2 separate regions of the Homo sapiens genome follow, and region 1 is linked to region 2. The links are contacts of gene promoters, found by promoter capture Hi-C in human tissues and cell types (Jung and others, 2019). All regions are on one chromosome and are shown on one strand. The core of a region is centred on a gene start or on the middle of the fragment in contact, and the rest is flanking DNA. Distances in the headings are between cores, read along the strand shown. Region 1 overlaps ABI1 (abl interactor 1). Region 2 holds the start of PDSS1 (decaprenyl diphosphate synthase subunit 1).

What was found. Contacts are between HindIII fragments. The study calls those that stand out against the background at their distance.
Region 1: a contact is called between a fragment that was not itself captured here and the fragment with the promoter of PDSS1 in region 2, in 1 of the 25 tissues and cell types used here (hippocampus).

What each region holds. Positions count from the first base shown.
Region 1 is chr10:26,843,289-26,847,421 of GRCh38, reverse strand. The region is part of intron 1 of ABI1 (abl interactor 1); the gene reads left to right. Among named protein-coding and RNA genes, the nearest start is that of ABI1, 16 kb to the left of the region's middle. The HindIII fragment of the contact is 4,695 bases long and covers 286-4,133 here.
Region 2 is chr10:26,695,406-26,699,451 of GRCh38, reverse strand. It overlaps PDSS1 (decaprenyl diphosphate synthase subunit 1), which reads right to left and starts at 1,751. Exons shown (of 12, transcript NM_014317.5): 1 at 1,612-1,751. The coding sequence starts at 1,740. RefSeq lists an enhancer at 696-1,584 and a silencer at 1,459-2,078. The HindIII fragment of the contact is 21,055 bases long and covers 1-4,046 here.

The sequences.
Region 1 (4,133 bases), core at 1,384-3,883, 150 kb before region 2:
TTGAACTCCTGGGGTCAGGGGATCTGCCTACCTTGACCTCCCAAAGAGTTAAGATTACCGGCGTGAGCCACCATGCCTGGTCCTCAGAGTTTGCTTTGAATAGTGGGAAGACAAACTGGTGATAACTCTTATTCTTTTAGAATAATCAGATAATACCATAAAGATCCCAAAGAAAACTGGCAAAATTGTATAGGCTCCCAAGTTGGAACCACAGGAGTTCCAAAAGGAATGCACAGTAAAATGAAATATATTTATAATTATATGTATTGTGCTTCTTAGTATGACAGAGTATATTAGTTTGTCACATACTCAGTTATTCTGCGACTTTTTACACGTATTATGTGTCAGACTGTTTTGTCAATCAGATACAGTTTCTACCCTCAAGTGATTTTATAGTTGGCCTCCTCCATTAATCAAATAACTCAAACTATAATAAATTACATCTAGGGAAGGTACATGTGACATGAAAGTATACATCAGGTGCTGCCACCTAGCTTGGTGTGTCATAGAAGTAATGTTGGAGTTGAGATCTGAAGGGTGAATATATGTTAACCGAGAACATTTGGGGGAAGGGAAAACAGTGTCTCTGTGGAGGGGAGAGCAGCATGTGTACAGGCTCAAAGGTAAGAGTGAAGGCAGAGTGATTTTGAACAAGTTACACACTTGTGTACTTCAGAGTAAACAGAGTCATCTGTGAAGAGGTAGGTAGGTACCAGATAAGGATTTTGATCTTTTTTTTTGTCTGAGGCTGATGAGAAGGCATTGAAAGTTTTAAGCAAGGCTGGGCGCAGTGGCTCCTGCCTGTAATCCCAGCACTTTGGGAGGCCAAGGTGGGCCCATCGCTTGAGGTCAGGAATTTGAGACCAGTCTGGCCAACATGGTGAAACCCCGTCTCTACTAAAAATACAAACATTAGCCAGACATGGTGGTGCTTGCCTGTAGTCCCAGCCACTCAGGAGGCTGAGGCAGGAGAATCACTTGAACCTGGGAGGCGGAGGTTGCAGCGAGCTGAGAGCACGCCACTGCACTCCAGCCTGGGCAACAGAGTGAGACTCTGCCTCAAGAAAAAAAAAAAAAAAGAAAAGAGAAAGAAAGTTTTCAGCAATGGGATGATATAATTTTTACTTTTTATGAAGTTTACTCTTGTTTAGAGTGGAGAACAGATTGGAAGGAGGATTGACTACAGATTGGAAGGAGTTCAGAACAGATTGGAGGGTGGCTAGTCTAGAGGTGATGGTAGCAATTGGTGATGGTTTTTCTAAAATCTTTTTTTTTTTTTTGAGACGGAGTCTCACTCTGTCGCCCAGACTGGAGTGCAGTGGTGTGATCTCAGCTCACTGCAACCTCTACCTCCCAGGTTCAAGCAAGTCTCTCTGCCTCAGCCTCAGTAGCTGGGATTACAGGTACCCACCACCGTGCCTGGCTACTTTTTGTATTTTTTTGTAGAGACGGGGTTTCACCATGTTGGCCAGGCTGGTATTGAACTCCTGACCTCAGGTGCTCTGCCTGCCTCGGCCTCCCAAAGTGCTGGGATTACAGGCATGAGCCACTGTGCTTGTCCATTTTTTCTAAAATCTTCAGTGCCTGAACTCATCATGGTAGACTGTGACTATTATTTTTCTTTTCTAAAAAGAGGAGTATTTGAGGCTATTGGGATTTGTTGAACTGAAATAGAGAAAGATTCATTCAACAAATAGTTAATTGCCTACTCTATGGAAGACTGTCTGTTAGGTATTATGATGTGGTGGTATGATGTCTATATTATTATTATTATTTTTGAGACAGAGTTTCGCTCTTGTTGTCCAGGATGGAGTGCAATGGCACGATCTTGGTTCACTGCAACCTCCACCTCCCGGGTTCAAGTGATTTTCCTGTCTCAGCCTCCCAAGTAGCTGGGATTACAGGCACATGCCACCATACCCAGCTAGTATTTGTAGCTTTAGTAGAGATGGGGTTTCATCATATTGGTCAGGCTGGTCTCGAACTCCTGACCTCAGGTGATCCGCCCGCCTCAGCCTCCCAAAGTGCTGCGATTATAGGTGTGAGCCATCATGCCCTGCTTTGTGTCTATATTATTTATAAGCTATGTAGAAATCACTGAAAAGCCTTAAATCTAAGAAAAAGAAAATTGGTCTATAGTATGTATAGTTAAATGAGGAAATGTTCTGTATGGAAGAAAAATAATTGTTATTTTTGAAAGGGTTTTGATTTTAGTTTGGGCAGTCAGAAGTTTGCTTATGGAAAGAGAATATGTCAAGCAGCTTTTTTTTTTTTTAAAGCATTTAGGTAATATGTTCCTATAAAAGGGTCAATACAGTTGTATTAAAAGTCAAACCTAAAATGTCTCTTCTTCTTCTCCCCATACTGCTATTATCCTCTCCCCTCAAACTGTATGCTTGTTTTCTGCCTTTCCAGTTTTTGTACAAAGGATGTGCTTTGGGAAGATTCATCTTACATTGGTACGGGATGGATTGGAGAAGGGAGAGACTGGATGGACAGTGACCAGTTAGAGGACTGTCACATTTGTCTCACTGTAAAGAGTATTTCATGAATTGAGATAGCTGTAGTAAGATTGAAAAGGAAGATAAGAATCAGCAAGCCTTGGTGAAGGAGATATGGGTGGCTGCGGGAAAAGGAGAACCCAAAGAAGGCTTATTTAACCGGTATCTATTTTCCCCTAGCATAAAGCTAATGCGCCTACAGAAGGTAATTTGCAGTCACAGAAGTGAATCTATAGACCCCCTCTTTTTCAGCTGTTAGTACACAGTTGGTTTCTGACACTTTCCAGCTTTTACTCCTCCACAATTGAATTGATTGGCAGAGCAGTGGGTTGGAGAATAGGAATAAAGCTTGACTGCTAGCTGGCTGCGTGGGCAGAACAGGGAAGGGAAGAGGGAAGAGGAGAGGAAAGGGATTCCAGTTTCTCTGGCTATATACTGTTGTGGCATGAGGTGCATGTCTTTTGATGTTAATTTTGATGTTCTATCATAACCTTCTGCATTACAGATTGTTGGTATTTTTATATGTGTAGTCTTTATAAATTTCAAATACATATGACGTGGGTTGAAAATGATCTCTTTTTGAAAGGAACTTTTAGAGAGAATTCTAAGGAACAGTAGTGTTTGGGGGTTCTCAGGCAAAGTTTCTCCTAAAGAATGAGTTTAGCCGAGTCATTAATTTAAAGAGTTGAGGGGAAGGGGGATTGGGAGGCAAGGGATATATATAGGTAGTAGGAACAGAAAGATAGCAAGGCATGTTTGGGAGAGCTGTGAGTAGTGTCAAGTGCCAGGGAAGGTGGAGGAGATGAAGTCTTAGTCAAAAACATACTTGAACTGCTGTCACTAAACTGTAGAAGATCGGATCAGTGTTTCCCAGATTTGAAAATAGAAACCGTGTTTTAAATTTAACACTGGTAAGATGAAATTGTGCTTTTGCTATGTCCTGACATATTCTGTTCATTTGTCTAGACACGTTTGGCATAATCAACAGAAACCACTGGATGAGTGGTTAAATATAAGATAAATGAGTTATAGGTCTGAATCAATCACTTTTGTATGAGCTAATTGTCATAACTTGGGGACTGCTTGTATGAGTGGCTTTATTGTTAGTGTTTATTAATGTCTTGTGGTATATAGAGCTATTTTTTTTTTCAACTCAATTGGGTATTTCTTCCACCCATCCTACCTCTCCTACCTTGCCCCACTACCACAAAGAAGAAGAAGAAAGGCAGCATGGTACTATCTCTATGAAAATCCTGCCACTCTCATTTTTGCTTTTTGGGTGAGGAGGTACGGTGCTGCAAGGTGGGAAGAATGTGTGATATATTAATATTTACATCACTGAGGAGAATTGCAATACATTCCTTTTATAGTCACATGGAAGTTTTAGGAAAAGCTTTGCTTCTACATATATATATATATATATATATATATATATTTTTTTTTTTTTTTTTTTTTTTTTTTTTTTTTGAGACGGAGTCTTGCTATGTCATAAAGGCTGGAGTGTGGTGGCATGATCTCAGCTCACTACAACCTCCGCCTCCAAGGTTCAAGCGATTCTCCTGCCTCAGCCTCCCAAGTATCTGGGACTACAGGTGCATGCCACCACACCCCGGCTAATTTTGTATTTTTTAG
Region 2 (4,046 bases), core at 502-3,001:
CTGCACTCCAGCCTGGGCGACAGAGTGAGACTCTGTGTCAAAAAAAAAAAAAAAGAAGAAGAAGAAGAAGCATGTAGTGGCATAAGAGGGTGGATGCACCCATCTCTTCAAATACTGGCTTCTTCTGTGGAACTAGAAATATCTGAAGTCTGGAGAGAACAGTCCTGAAATGGATCACAGCAAAGCCTACCTTCCTCCTCTAAGCCTCTTCTCCCACATGCCCCTCACCCCCCATATTCTGTTCTCTTTACTCTCTAGCATTGTCTAGTTGCCCAGCTGCCACTTGGTCTCCAAACGTCTTTTTTGCTTTAGATTTTTTAGAGATAGGGTCTCACACTGTTGCCCAGGCTGGAGTGCACTGGCACTATCACAATAAACAGCTCACTGTAATCTTGAACTCCTGGGATCGAACAATCCTCCTCCCTCAGGCTCCTGAGTAGGTAGAACTACAGGCATGCACCACCCCACCTGGTGAATTTTTTCTATTTTTTATAGAGACAGAGTCTTGCTATGTTGCCTAGGCTGGTCCCAAACTCCTGGCCTCAACCGATTCTCCCACCTCAGCCTCCCAAAGTGCTGGGATTACAGGTGTGAGCCACTGTGCCTGGCCCAAGCCTTGTTTTGGATAATTTGTGATACGCATCTACTTTGGTACAAAGTAGATATTTATAAGTGTTATATATTTCATACTGGGAAATGATGTTTGATGAGAACACGGACACATAAAGTATACCAAATCTGAATTAAAAGAGTACTAAATTCAAATAAACTTAAGTAACAGTGAGTCCATAGATTTTGCACGGTTATGCTAATAGCATGGGCCTACCCCATGGCACACTGAGAATCATTACAAAGCGCAGAAGGGCTCACAGTGTCCATTTACAGGGGCTAAACTGACCAGAAAGGGAGAAAAAGGAGATCGGAACCCAAAGGCAGCAGAGGAGACCCTGAAAGAATGGGCTATCGCTGAGATTCTGACTTTAGATGACTCCAGGGTTTCTCTCCTCCTGACGGCCTCGGGCCTTTCTCCTTCCAGTGTCATTCCAGCCCCATCCAGGTGTGCTCTCCTCCCGAGGCCACTGCTGGACAACTAAGGTCCGGTCCACCCTAGCACCAGCCCTGCATTCTCCACAAGACCTTTTCGGACTATTCCGAGGCCGATTCGATCCTCCGTTTCTCGGAGAGAGCTCTGAGCACTTTGGCTCTAAAATTTCAGGCAAGATCTGTCTTCCTCTAACTCCAAAGTAAATAGCTGCAGTCGCTCTCCAGGCTTAACCTTGTCCATATAGCAGCGGTCAATCTGATCGCTCCTGCGCTTCCCCCAGGACACGGATCCCACCGCTTTCTCCACCCCCCAAAACGCTCCCGGGGTCCCCAGGACACCGCTTTCTGCAACCCCGTGTAGGGCGCCCCTACTTCAGTCCAACGCGCGGCTCCGTCCCACCGCGAGCACCCCTCAGCTCCGGAGTCCCACCCCGGAGCTACCCCGGAGCTACCCCGCGCGCCCCCGCGTCGCGACGCACGTGCTCCCCGCTCCCATTCATTCCGCCCACTGCTGTCATTGGAGCCGTGACCTCTGAGCCCCGCCGGGCGCGCGCCTCCCAACCTCACCTGCGCGCGGACTTCGGCAGCGGCGCTCGGCCCCAACGGTCCCGCACGGCCGGGGGAGCCGGGCCCGGGGCTCCGCGCCGCCGGCTTCCAGGAGCAGCCGCGCCGCCACCGCCACCAGCGCGAGGCCATGGTCGGAGTCTGAAAGTCGCGGCAGGGCGGCGGCTCCGCCTCTGGCCCGCGATCCTCCTCCCGGGACCCGGAGCCGGAAACCTGGCACAGGAAGCGCTTCGGCCAGGCCCGGGAGCGCGGTTCGCTCTTCCTCGCTTGCGGTCCGGCTGCCGGCGCGGACACTTCGGGTGTCTGCCCGTCTGCAGCCAACGGGGACTGCAGCCGCTCCCGGGAGGCGACGGGGCAGGGGCGTGCGGAGACCTGGTCTGGGGACCCCGAGCGTAACCTTCCCCGGGGCGAGCCTCCTATCCCCACCTCTTCCCGGAAGCTGTGCAGGGAGACTGGCCACGCCTGCAGTCATAGCAAAAATGTCCCTGTGGGGACCTTTTATTAGCAAGAAATACTACCGCGCGCCACCCTTGCAGCCACGAACTCTTTTGTTCTGCGTGTTTAGGCAGAAACATAACTCAGAGAATGGGGTTCCCGCTCCGCAGCCTAAGCCGGAGGCGACGGTTTCCGCTGCTGCTTCCCTTGGCAGTGACCTGACACGCCCTGGTCGGCTGCCTTTTGCAATCTGTTCTTGAAGGAAGTTCCAGCCCATCGCATCTTCCTAGAAACAAGTCCGACCACGATCAGGGTTGTTGTGAAATAGTAGCTAAATTAGCCGGGTCTCGTGACTTTTGGACTCTCCCCTCCAAACGCCTTATAGGTATAGTTTGGCAATCTTGCTCACACCTGGGTGTGAACCTGCGTGTACCCAGCCCGGGAGATATTGGAGTCTGTACAGGATTAGTACCCCTTATGGGTTAGAAAGGCCTTCTTTCCTTAGCTCTAAGGCCAGATCTACTGGTGCTAAGAGACAGCGTGTTCCGAACAGAAATTAAGTGATATAAACATTCAGCGCATGCACTCAAACACACAGAGCCAGTGAGATAGGGGGTAAGCATTAGAGATAGAGAAATGCAATTTAGTCCTCAAAAAATTCACTCTAATGAGGAAATAGACCAGCAAGTAGGTAATTGCAGTTCTCTGATTCATGTATTTTCTTGTTCTTGGGTTAAAGAATGCGGTAGCCTCATAGCTGGGTACATTAATTTCATATTTAATCGTGTGGATTTTTTATGGAATGAAGACATCATAGACTATATAAAGACATCTATGAAAATAAGCCAGTTTGATGGTGTTTTTTCCATCTTGAAGAATAGTATGTAAAAATATGCAAAGCTTTATGAGTAAAGATTGTTAATATGCACCTGTAGCTTATCTTGGTTTAGATTAGGTTTATATATTAAGAAACATTCATAAGGTGGAATTTGCCAAGTAGAGTGTAGCAGTAAGCACTTGGGTTGTACTTGATCCTATGACTAAGACATTATCATTTGCCCTTTTTTGTATATAAAGATAAGGAAACATATAGAGGAAATACCGTATGGTCAAATAAGTATCACACTCAAGCTCACCCAGTTGTCAAGTATGTCACTACACAATTTTGTCAGACCATGTTCGTTTAGAGATTGCTTGGCCACATTAAAACAGAAAACATTGCTCTTAAAAAGATGCTGTAGGTCGGGGGCACAGTGGCTCAGCCTGTAATCCCAGCACTGTGGGAGGCCGAGGCAGGTGGATCACTTGAGGTCAGGAGTTTGAGACCAGCCTGGCCAACATGGTGAAACCCGTCTCTACTAAATATTCAAAAATTAGTTGGGCATGGTGGTGCATGTTCTGTAATCCCAACCACTTAGGAGGCTGAGGCAAGAGAATCACTTGAACCTGGGAGGCAGAGGTTGCAGTGAGCCGAGATTGTGCCACTGCACTTCGGCCTAGGTGACAAAGTGAGACTCCGTCTTTAAAAAAAAGAAAAAGAAAAAAAGATGCCGTAGTATTGCAAGGCTAAGTAGGGACAGCAGCTGAAGTTCCTCAAGACTTCCAACGTTACTGTATAGCTAAACTCTTGAGAAAAAACAGTAAGCTACCAATTGGACATACGGAATTCACAAGTAGTTCTTTTGACCCCACTAGGCCAAGCATGAGTTGAGGAAGTTAAAAACACTATCTGAGTTATGCAGGTAAGTGCTAAAGAACAGACTTCTCTTGTGCAGTCTGAAAACAACTTTAGTCTATTTTGCTGCCCTTAGACAAATGAAAAGAGCCAGTACAGATGGATCAAAATGGCCTATGTGTAACTGAAAGCGATCAAGGTTGTCGTTTTGAGGTTGGAGTGTTAGGTACCCTCCAAGACATTTTCTTGCCATATTGATGATACTGTTTAAAACATAATATCTACAATAGGAACAGGTTTTATAGCCAAAGAGATTGTAAATATAGTA